3 separate regions of the Homo sapiens genome follow, and all the other regions are linked to region 2. The links are contacts of gene promoters, found by promoter capture Hi-C in blood cells and fetal thymus (Javierre and others, 2016). All regions are on one chromosome and are shown on one strand. Each heading gives the region's core, a stretch centred on a gene start or on the middle of the fragment in contact. The rest is flanking DNA. Distances are from core to core; before and after follow the strand shown.

The links. The method cuts DNA at HindIII sites, captures the fragments that hold promoters and counts their contacts. A CHiCAGO score of 5 or more calls a contact.
Region 1: a fragment that was not itself captured here is called in contact with the fragment with the promoter of HSD17B10 in region 2 in 3 of 17 cell types (neutrophils, total B cells and activated CD4 T cells); the score reaches 10.0 in neutrophils.
Region 3: a contact is called between a fragment that was not itself captured here and the fragment with the promoter of HSD17B10 in region 2, in 1 of 17 cell types (neutrophils). The highest score is 6.1, in neutrophils.

What each region holds. Positions count from the first base shown.
Region 1 is chrX:54,032,946-54,036,845 of GRCh38, forward strand. All of the region lies in intron 2 of PHF8 (PHD finger protein 8), which reads right to left. Among named protein-coding and RNA genes, the nearest start is that of PHF8, 9.6 kb to the right of the region's middle. The HindIII fragment of the contact is 5,057 bases long and covers 1-3,900 here.
Region 2 is chrX:53,432,991-53,436,961 of GRCh38, forward strand. HSD17B10 (hydroxysteroid 17-beta dehydrogenase 10) reads right to left here and starts at 1,380. Exons shown (of 6, transcript NM_004493.3): 1 at 1,329-1,380; 2 at 732-896. The coding sequence starts at 1,355. The HindIII fragment of the contact is 11,572 bases long and covers 1-2,675 here.
Region 3 is chrX:54,049,371-54,053,671 of GRCh38, forward strand. No RefSeq gene overlaps it. Among named protein-coding and RNA genes, the nearest start is that of PHF8, 7.0 kb to the left of the region's middle. The HindIII fragment of the contact is 2,601 bases long and covers 605-3,205 here.

The DNA.
Region 1 (3,900 bases), core at 443-2,942, 600 kb after region 2:
ATCCCTCCAAGTACAGCTAAAAACCCTGGACAATATATACAAAACAAACATAAAACTCTGAAAGGTGAAGGGAAGAAAGCAGACCGACTAGAGACAGCAGGATCCACCCACCTAGCAGGTGGTGGATAGCACCAAAGACCAAGTGGGGAACCTGTACTTCCACCCCCACCTGGCAGTCATGAAGTGGTACCCCCTTTCTGCCACCGGAGCGCAGTGTCTGAGAAGGCCTGCAAAAACAGAAGTCTTAAATAAGATCCAGGATCTCGTGACATAATGCCCCAAATGTCCAGAATATAATTAAAATAATTATTTGTCATACCAAGAACAAGGAAAATCACAACTCGAATAAGAAAAGAAAATCAACAGATGTTAAGACTGAGATGACACAGATGTTGGAATTATTTAAGAATTTTAAAGGCGCCATCATAAAAATGTTTCAATGAGCAATTAAGAACATGCCTGAAACAAATGAATAAATTGAAAGTGTCGCCGGGCACAGTGGCTCATGCCTGTAATCCCAGCACTTTGGGAGGCTGAGGTGGGCAGATCACGAGGTCAGGAGTTCGAGACCAGCCTGGCCAACACGGTGAAACCCCATTTCTACTAAAAATACAAAAGATAGCTGGGCGTGGTGGCATGTGCCTGTAATCCCAGCTACTCGGGAGGCTGAGGCAGGAGAATCACTTGAACCCAGGGAGGCAGAGGTTGCAGTGAGCCGAGATCGCACCATTGCACTCCAGCCTGGGCAACAGAGTGAAACTCCATCTCAGAAAAAAATCATCATCATCATAATAAAATAAATAAATACATAGAAAGTGTCAGCAAAAATTAGCCAGGCATGGTGGTATGTGCCTTTAATCCCAGCTACTTGGGAGGCTGAGGCAGGAGAATCACTTGAACCCAGGAGGTGGAGGTTGAAGTGACCCAAGATTGCACCACTGCACTCCAGTCTAGGCCACAGAGCTAGACTCTTGTCTCAAATAAAAAAAAAAAGAAAGTGTCAACAAAAAATAGAAAATCTCTTCAAACAAATAGAAGATATAGAAAAGAATCTAACAGAATTTTTAGAACTGAAAAATACAGTAACAATGAAAATTCTTTAGTAACTTAAATGAAAATTCAACAGCAGAATGGAGAAAACAGAGAAAAGAATCAGTAAGTTGAAGATAGAACAATAGAAATTATCCAATCTGAACAACAGAAAGAAAACAGATTGGAAAAAAAATGAACAGAGCCTCAGCAACCTACAGGACTACAACAAAAGACAAACCGGAACAAATCCACACTAAGACATGGCTTAATCAAATTCCTAAAAGCAAAAGACAAAGGAAAAATCCTGAAAGCAATGAGAGATAAATGACACATTACCTCAAGGAGAACACCAATTTGAATGACAGAGGCTCTCTCATCAGAAACCATGGAGGGCAAAAGGAAGTAGCAGAACAGTTTTCAAGCGCTGAGATAAAAGAACTAGAAACCCAGAGTTCGATATGAAGTGAAAAGATCCCCTAAGAATTCAAGGGAAATCAAGATATTCTCAGATTAAGGAAAACTAAACGTATCTGTTGCCAACACTTATCCTAAAAGAATGAGTAGGCTGGGCACAGTAGCTCATGCCTGTAATCCCAGCACTTTGGGAGGCCGAGACGTGTGGATCATTTGAGGTCAGGAGTTCAAGACCAGCCTGGCCAAGATGGTGAAACCCCGTTTCTACTAAAAATACAAAAAATTAGCTGGGCGTGGTGGCGGGCGCCTGTAATTCCAGCTACTCTGGAGGCTGAGGCAGAGAATTGTTTAAACCTGGAGGGGCGGAGGTTGCAGTGAGCCGAGATCACGCCACTGCACTCCAGCCTGGGCGACAGAGCGAGACTTCGTCTCAAAAAAAAAAAAAAAAAAAAAAAAAATCAGCCAGGCATAGTGGTGCATGCCTGTAGTCCCAGCTACTGGGGGGTGGGGGGCTGAGGTGGGAGGATCACTTGAGCCCAGGAGGTTTAGGCTGCAGGTGAGCCGTGACTGTTCCACTACACTCCAGCCTGGGCAACACAGCAAGACTCTGTCTCAACAACAACAAAACGATTAATTAGATTATAAACAAAAGAGCATTAAGGCATATAAAGAAAAGTAAAGTTTCAACCGGACATGGTGGCTCACGCTTGTAATCCCAGCACTTTGGGAGGCTGAGGCGGGCAGATCATGAGGTCAGGAGTTCGAGACCAACCTGGTCAACATAGTGAAAACTCGTCTCTACTAAAAATACAAAAATTAGCCGGCTATGGTGGACCACACCTGTAGTCCCAGCTACTCGGGAGGCTAAGGTGGGAGAATCGCTTGAACCCAGGAGGCAGAGGTTGCAGTGAGCCGAGACCACATCATTGCACTCCAGCCTGGGTGACAGAGTGAGACTCTGTCTCAAAAAAAAAAAGGAAAAAGAAAAGTAAAGTTTCTACTCTTCAATCAAACTGGTAAAATGTCAAGAGCAGTTGCTTATGGTAAGTTATATGTATAATGTAATACCTAGAGCAAGTACTGAAAAAAGCAATACAGAGATAACTCGGGCCAAGAGCAGTAGTTCATGCCTGTAATCCCAGCACTTTGGGAGGCTGAGGTGGGAGGATCATCTGAAGCCAGAAGTCCAAGACCATCCCAGGCAACAAAGGGAGGTACCACCAACCTACACCCACACCCTCCCCACACAAAAAATTTTAAAAATTAGGGCACACAGTGGCACATGCTTGCAGTTTCAGCTATTGTAGAGGCTGAAGCATGAGGAGATTGCTTAAGCCCTGGAATTTGAGGCTGCAGTAAACCATGATCAAACCACTGCACTCCAGCCCAGGTGACATAGAGACCCTGTCTCAAAAATAAATGAATGAATGAATGAGTAGGCCGAGTGCAGTGGCTCACACCTGTAATCCCAGCACTTTGGGAGGCCGAGGCAGGCGGATCACCTGAAGTCAGAAGTTCAAGACCAGCCTGACGAACATGGAGAAACCCCGTCTCTACTAAAAATACAAAATTAGCTGGGCGTGGTGGCACATGCCTGTAGTCCCAGCTATTCAGGAGGCTGAGGCAGAAGAATCGCTTGAACCTGGGAGCCGGAGGTTGCGGTGAGCCAAATCGCGCTCCAGCCTGGGCAACAAGAGCGAAACTCCATCTCAAAAAAAAAAAAAAAAAAGAAAAGAAAAAAGAAAAAATCAGCAAGGATTAGAAGAATTCAGCAACACCATTAACCAACAGTAGTTAATTGACATTTATAGAACACTCTACCCAAAAATGGCAGAATACACATTCTTTTCGAGTGATCATGAAACATTTACCAAGATAGACTCTGGGCTATAAAACAAATCTCAATAAATGTAAAGGAATTGAAATCATACAAAGTATATTCTCTGACCACTATCAAACTAGAAGTCAGTAACAGAACGATAACAGGAAACTCTACAAAAACTTCAAAATTAAACAACATACTTCTATACTTCATGGGTCAAACAGGAAGTTTCAAGGGGAATTTAAAAATGCCTTGAGGCAGCAGGAGGATCACTTTAGCCCAGGAGCTGGAGGCTGCAGTGAGAGCTATGATCCTGCCTCTGCAGTACCGCCTGGGCAACAGACTGAGACACTGTCTCAAAAAAAAAAAAAAAAAAAAAAAAAAAAACTTTTTTTTTTTTTAATGCCTTGAACTACATGAAAAGGGAAAATGTAACATATTAAAATCTATTGGTGCTGAGAAGAAACTTAACAGCTAAAGGCTTACATTAGAAAAGAAAGAAAGGCCGGGTGCTGTGGGTCACGCCTGTAATCCCAACACTTTGGGAGGCCGAGGCGGGTGGATCACCTGAGGTCAGGAGTTCGAGACTAGCCTGGCCAACATGGTGAAACCCCATCTCTATTAAAAATACA
Region 2 (3,971 bases), core at 130-2,629:
TGCAACCCTGTTGTGAGGCTGGGTGCAGTGGCTCACACCTGTAATCCCAGCACTTTGGGAGGCCGAGGCGGGCGGATCACGTGAGATCAGGAGTTCAAGACCAGCCCGGCCAACATGGTGAAACCCCATCTCTTCTAAAAATACAAAAAAAAAAATTAGCTGGGCGTGGTGGCAGGTGCCTGTAATCCCAGCTACTTGGGAGGTTGAGGCAGGAAAATCGCTTGAACCCAGAAGATGGAGGTTGCAAGGAGCTGAGATTGTGCCACTGCACTCCAGCCTGGGCAACAGAGCGAGACTCCATCTCAAAAATAAAAATAAAAAATAACCCTCTTGTGAGAATTATTGATAGGAAGATAAACTAGCTTTTTTGTATCCTTACCTGCTAAGATGATTTCATCAAGTTTCACTTTCTGTAGTTTGTTTCATGAAAACAAGTTTTTTGACTTTGTAAATATAAAATTACAAGGCACAAAATGCATTTTCAAACCATACATAACTCCTCCAGGAGATTGTTACGTCCAATCCCCATCCTCATTGTTGTGAATCCCAGCTTTAGAGAATCCTTATCACAGGTGGTCCCACAGTGCTTGAAGGCTCAGGCCAAAAGAGACAAGGAGATGGGTCTACCGCCCCCATAGAGGAGACCCTTATGGGAGGGACCCCCACAGGTTCCCAGGCCGGTGTTGGTGACCTCATGCACACCCTGGGAGAGGAGAGGTGACCCCACTTACGTCGGCTGGGGCGAAAACGCAGTTGTTTCCTAACTTCTTGGCTTGGGCCTCCCCACCCGAGTTGGGCAGGTCCAGAAGCACAGCAGAGGCTCCCTGCCCCACAAGTCGCTCCGCCGTGGCCAGGCCCAGGCCCGAGGCTCCTCCGGTTATTACCGCCACCAGGCCCTGTCAAAAGGGACATGGTCAGGGTCAGCTGTTACATTGCCCAGACCATCCCCACGCTGTCGCCTGCCTGTTCTCCAGGCTTCTGAGGAGAAGGGGGGAGGGGAGAGGTCGTGGTCACCCCTGCGGGTAAACTAGGTGTGCTGCTTCTCCTCAGCGTTGGGACCTCGGGGGCAGAAGGGATCTCATCCCCAGACAGCCCGTCCCGTGACGATAGATAGATAGATGATTGATAGATAGATAGATAGACAGACAGACAGACAGACAGATGCGCCGCGGAGTGCTGACTTTCACCTCTTGAGCCCAACGGCCACAATACCAGGCCTACATAAGCATGACCCTTTCCCTCGAAACCGATCTCTTTCTCCTAGTTCCACGGCCGCGCTGTCCCGGCCCGTAAAGGAAGGCAAGCAACAGAGGCAAAGAACCTTCTACCTTCACGCTCCGACACGCTGCTGCCATCTTGTCGCCGGCCACTCCACGGGATGGGGATGGGGGCGCGGGCGCTCGTTGATTGGCCGAGGCGAAGCGGCGGAAGGGGCGGATGCGACGGGCCGGGGCGTCTGCCGCTGCCGCATGAGACGTGGGGGCGTGGCCTGGTACGCTAGTCCTTTGGCCAGAGGGCGGATTCCGCCTGCTAAGGTATCCCCAGAGTTATTTCAACTGGGGAAAGAGACCAATAGCAGAAGTACAATACCACAACACCCCTCGCCCTACTCTCTAGCTGGCCTTTTGGCAAGTGGCCTGCTCCGCGTGGGGGAAGAGGGGTGGATATTGAGAACGGATGCCTTTCTCCTCTGAAAAAGTCTTAATTCAAGTATGAATGTATTTGAGACTCCTATATGCTAGACGGTGTGCGGGGCACCTGGGATACCCAGCGGAATAATAAAAGATTCATGCCTTCCAGGAGGGCACAGTCCAGGTGGAGAAAGAGAATTACAGTACAGACACAGACGAATGGACGGAACCAGATTCTGGGACACTCAGACAAGGAGATCCAAAGATGAGGAGTCTGAGTTAGAGAGAGAGAGAGCCATGTAAAGAGAAATATGTTGAGGCCGAGATAGGAAGAGAGATGCCAGGTAGGATCACAGAGAGATGAATGTGGAAAGCCGCTAAGAGAGATGCTTGGAGACAGACATTCTAGGACAGCTGCTGAGAAGCACAAACCTAAAGAGGCAAAAACATCTTTCATCAGTTCAGGCTTTGCTACTCTCCTCTATCTTTGTCTAATTTAAGTCCAAAAGCCCAGATCACACACTGCAGATTGGACTTCAACCAGAGACTATTATTTAAGACCCAGGTCTTTGTCATCCTAGAACATCTTTCAGGCAGCTTCCAGAAGCTATGTCATTAGAGTCTTGAGCCCAGATATCTAATCTGTCTTCCTTCTATACTTTTCCTCAAACCAAGGTCTTCAGGCCATAAATCTTAGCCCACCATTTCAGCCTCAGAACTGCTTTATGTTTTCTCTATCTGAAATATCTCCCCCCACTTGCTTTCTCACCCAGGAAGATTCCCCTCCAGGCCTTCTAGTTGTTGACAGCCACCACACTCATAATCACTACACCGTATTTACCAAAGGATTTAGCACACCGGTCTCACAATTTTCCTATCTACATGAAGTGCTTCCATCAATTTATAGCACTCTTCATCCGGCCCAATATGCTGTAGCCACAGTGGCCTCCTTTGTGTTCATCTTTGCATTAGCTGCTCCCTCTGCTTGGAATGCTCTCCCCTGATCTTTGCATGACTGCTTTTATTTTTTTTCATTCAGAACTAAGCTTAAATATCACCTTCCCAGAGGGGTCCTCCCTAAATATTCAAACTGTAGCCACCTAGACACTATCCCATTGCATATTTGAATTATCTTCATAGCACTTGCATGTCCGTAATCCATTTTCCAACCTTAGGGCCAGATGTGCTGTGGAATTCAGAGTTTTTTTCAATTTGAGAAAGGAAGACATGTAATTTATATTACATAACTCTTTAAAAAAACTAGTCAAACATAACTTTTTGTATAGTCTATATTATATAACTATTGAGAAAAGCCTGGAGCATCGTAATGAAATATTAATATTTCTGAAGTGAAAGGTATGAAAATTCACACCAAGTGTGAATAAAGACTATAAATAGCCTCACACTACTTCAGGTCAGGTTTTGTCATCTATTGAGTTTGGGCTCCAAAGTATGAAAAAACAACCTTATGCTTTTCAGAAGTTTTGGCATTGCAGGATTGTGCCTACAGGCTTGTGAGCCTGCATGCTCCGCTAACCTGGCCTTGTTTGTGTAGTTCTCCCCCTGCTGGAAGGTAAGCCCCATGGCACCAGGGGCTTGTCCAGCTGGTTCACCTAATGCCGAGAACACTGCTTGGCGTGTACAAGACACTTAAAACAAATGTGTGAAATAAATGAATTAATGAATTAATCTTGGAAGAATTTCCAGGCACAGTTTCATGATTCTTTCACCTGCCCAACTCCGGGAACCTTCACCTCCTCTCTACTTTAACCACCTGTCCAGGCCACCTTATTGCACTTGTCATTCCCTGGAATAACCTCCTGCCCTCCCCAGCATCTACACACCATCTTTTCTCTCTCTGACCATGTTCTCGAGTTGTCTTGGATCTCTTCCCCTCTACCGCTTTTTTTTTTTTTTTTGAGATGGAGTCTCCCGCTGCCCAGGCTGGAGTGCAGTGGCGCATCTTGGCTCACTGCAACCTCCGCTTCCTGGGTGCAAGCAATTCTCCTGCCTCAGCTTCCAGAGTAGCTGAAATTACAGGCATGGGCCACCACGCCTGGCTAATTTTTGTATTTTTAGTAGAGATGGGATTTTACCATGTTGGCCAGTCTGGTGTTGAACTCCTGACCTCAGGTGATCCGCCCTGCCTCAGCCTCCCAAAGTGTTGGGATTACAGGCATGAGCCATCGCGCCCAGCCTCAGCTCTATTATTTACTAGCCGAATGACCCTGGACAAGTTACTTAACTGATGTGCCTCAGTTTCCTCTTCTGTAAAATGAGTATAAACAAATGACTATTCGTAGGGTTGTTAGGAATAAATGAGTTAACAACTATGTATTT
Region 3 (4,301 bases), core at 655-3,154, 620 kb after region 2:
ACCACTAGTGTGGATTTAACAGCAACTGGTGTATAAATGTAATGGGAAGGTAATCAATTAATGGTTCTTTGCATAATTTGAAACACAGAAACAAAATGTGGTTTGCACACACTTGAAATAAAAACTAGCAGGATGGTGCCCCAGGTGCCAAACTAAGCAATGGAGAACACCAACCCACGCCTCCAGGGCCAGCTTCATGGGCGTGCCTGTTCACCGAGCTCTGCTCCTAGAAGGGGCCTTAGGCTTGGTTTAATGTAATGCTGTGGCTGTCTTGAAATTGATAATTTTATCTTTGAGCTTGTCTTTTCTAAGTGTAGTCCACTGTGACAATGGATCATGGACATGAGCAGAAGGGATATGCTAAGTGGCAGCACCCACAGCCTATGGAAACTGCAGGCAATGTGCATGCCACCAAGCAGTTTGACAGGCCGCCTGGTGTGCAGAAACACACCAGAGGGGGACATCAGGGCCCAGAGGGGACGTCAAGCCAGTGACTACAGTGGCAGCAGTAGCAAAAGCAGCAGCACAGGTAGCAGTGGCTATAGATCTGGGAGAGAGGAGGGCCTCTGTGCAGGAACAGTGAGGAGACCTGTTGTGAGAGGCAAGCTTGTCCTGTCACCAGGGCCTGTACAAAGATTAACGCTTTGGCCTGCATACTGGCACAGGAACTGCTGGCACTCAGGCAGTAAACTTTGCAAGGAAATGATTATGAAATAAACGAGTACCCATGGACATTGCAGTAAAGTGTATGGAGAGGATTATTATAATTTTTCAAAGAGTTTAGAATCTCTGGTTTTAAAAACTGGTGCAACACAGCAAAACAAATATCCAAAGGCTTAGAAATAGAAATTAAAATTAAAGATTGTCACAAAAGACACATTAAATGAAAAGTTTCAGATAAAATATCAATGAAGAAGACAATATAAAAGTTTCTTCCCTGTAATTGAAGAGACAGGCCAGGCGCAATGGCTTATACTTATACTCCCAACACTTTGGGAGGCCGAGACGGGGAATTGCTTGAGCCCAGGAGTTTGAGACCAGTCTGGACAACAAAGTGAGACCCTATCTCTACTAAAAATTAAAAAACAAAAAATTTGCTGGGTGTAGTGGTTCGTGCCTGAAGTCCCAGCTACTCAGGAGGCTGAGGTGGGAGGATTGCTTGAGCTTTTGAGGTCAAGACTGCAGTGAACCATGATCTCCCATTGCACTCCTGGCTGGGCAACTGAGTGAGATGCTGTCTCAAAACAAAACAAAACAAAATAAAACGACAACAAAAAAAGACCAGCCTGGGCAACAAAGTGAGACCTCGTCTCTATAAAAAATAAAAATATTAACATATTAGCCAGGCATGGTGGTGCGCACCTGTAGTCCCACCTACTGACGAGGCTGAATCGGGAGGATTCCTTGAGCCCAGGAGGTCAAGGCTGCAGTGAGCTGTGATCCCACTACTGCATTCTAGACTGGACAACAAAGTGAGACCCTGTCTTAAAAAAAAAAAAAAATGAATGTGGCCGGGCACAGTGGCTCACGCGTGTAATCCCAGCACTTTGGGAGGCCGAGGTGGGCGGATCATGAGGTCAGGAGTTCGAGACCAGCCTGGCCAACATGGTGAAACCCCATTTCTACTAAAAACACAAAAAAAATTAGCTGGGTGTGGTGGTGGGTGCCTGTAATCCCAGCTACTCGGGAGGCTGAGGAAGGAGAATCACTTGAAACCAGAAGGCGGAGGTTGCAGTGAGCCGAGATGACGCCACTGCACTCCAGCCTGGGCAACAAGAGTGAAACTCTGTCTCAAAAAAAAAAAAAAAAAAAATGAAGTTGCGGCCGGTGGCTCATGCCTGTAATCCCAGCACTTTGGGAGGCGGAGGCAGGTGGATCACCTGAGGTTGGGAGTTCGAGACCAGCCTGACCAAAATGGTGAAACCCCCATCTCTACTAAAAATACAAAAATTAGCTGGGCGTGGTGGCACATGCCTGTAATTCCAGCTACTTGGGAGGCTGAGGCAGGAGAATCACTTGATCCTGGGAGCGGGAGGATGTGGTGAGCTGAGATCACGCCATTGCACTCCAGCCTGGGCAACAAGAGTGAAACTCTGTCTCAAAAAAAAAAAAAAAATGAAGTTGCTAAAAATGTTGATGACCAAATAATTGAATTTGCAGAAAAGGGAGTCAGAAAAATCTTATGATCATGATATATTAATAACACTATTTTTGCCGGGCACAGTGGCTGTCACCTGTATTCCCAGCACTTTGGGAGGCCGAGGTAGGTGGATCACTTGAGGTCAAGAGTTTCAGACCGACTTGGCCAACATGGTGAAACCCCGTCTCTACTAAAAATACAAAAATTAGTAGGCTGTGGTGGTGCACACCTGTAATCCCTGCTACTAGGGAGGCTGAGGCAGGAGAATCACTTGAACCTGGGAGGCAGAGGTTGCAGTTAGCCAAGATCGTGCCACTGCACTCCAGCCTGGGCAACAGAGTGAGATTCCGTCTCAAAAGAAAAAAAAATCATGTAAAATTATAACAAAAATATTTTTCTGTAATTTGTCATTATTCATGCATTACTATTACACTTACTATGTTTTATAAGTAAAAACATTTTTTTTAAGGAAACAAAATTTTTTTTTGATACAGAGTCATGCTGTGTCACCCAGGCTGGACTGGAGTGCAGTGGCGTGATCTCTGCTCATTGCAGTCTCTGCCTCACAGGTTCTAGCGATTCTCCTGCCTCAGCCGCCCAAGTAGCTGGGATTACAGACAGGCGCACACCACCACATCTGGCTTTTTTTGTTTTTAATTTTTAGTAGAGACGGGGTTTTACCATGTTGGCCAGGCTTGTCTCCAACTTCTGGCCTCAAGTGATCTGCCCACCTTGGCTTCCCAAAGTGCTGGGATTATAGGCGTGAGCCACCAAGCCCGGCCTAGGAAAAAAACTTTTTTTTTAAATTTTATTATTATTATACTTTAAGTTTTAGGGTACATGTGCACAACGTGCAGGTTTGTTACATATGTATACCTGTGCCATGTTGGTGTGCTGCACCCATTAACTCGTCATTTAGCATTAGGTATATCTTCTAATGCTATCCCTCCCCCCTCCCCCCACCCCACAACAGTCCCCGGTGTGTGATGTTCCCCTTCCTGTGTCCATGTGTTCTAATTGTTCAATTCCCACCTATGAGTGAAGCCCACTTGATCATGGTAGATAAGCTTTTTGATGTGCTGCTGGATTCGGTTTGCCAGTATTTTATTGAGGATTTTTGCATCAATGTTCATCAAGGATATTGGTCTAAAATTCGCTTTTCTGCTGTGTCTCTGCCAGGCTTTGGTATCAGGATGATGCTGGCCTCATAAAATGAGTTAGGGAGGATTCCCTCTTTTTCTATTGATTGGAATAGTTTCAGAAGGAATGGTACCAGCTCCTCCTTGTACCTCTGGTAGAATTCGGCTGTGAATCCATCTGGTCCTGGACTTTTTTTGGTTAGTAAGCTATTAATTATTGCCTCAATTTCAGAGCCTGTTATTGGTCTAGTCATATGCGGGATATAATCTCCTGGTGTGCCATTTTTTAAGCCCGTTGGAAAAGTGCAGTATTAGGGTGGAAGTGACCTGATTTTCCAGGTGCCGTCTGTCACCCCTTTCTTTGACTAGGAAAGGGAATTCCCTGACCCCTTGCGCTTCCCAGGTGAGGCGATGCCTTGCCCTGCTTCGGCTCATGCACGGTGTGCTGCACCCACTGTCCTGCACCCACTGTCCAGCACTCCCCAGTGAGATGAACCTGGTACCTCAGTTGGAAATGCAGAAATCACCCGTCTTCTGCGTTGCTCATGCTGGGAGCTGTAGACTGGAGCTGTTCCTATTCGGCCATCTTGGCTCCACAGGAAAAAACCTTTTTAGGTTGGGATCTTTAATTACACTTCCCCTCCTTTTTTCTTTTTTTTTTTTTCTTTTGAGATGGAGTCTCGCTTTGTCGCCCAGGCTGGAGTGCAGTGGTGCAATCTCGGCTCACTGCAACCTCTGCCTCCCAGGTTCAAGCAATTCTCCTGCCTCAGCCTCCTGTGTAGCTGGGACTACAGCTGCCGGCCACCATGCACGGCTAATTTTTGTATTTTTAGTAGAGATGGGGTTTCACTATGTTGGTCAGGCTGGTCTCAAACTCCCAACCTCAGGTGATCCATCCACCTCAGCCTCCCAAAGTGCTGGGATTATAGGCGTGAGCCACTGCACCCGGCTTTCTCCTCTGCTTTTTGAACGTGAGGCTCTCCATTCCATTTTCACGTTGTGCTGGGCTTCACCAATTATGT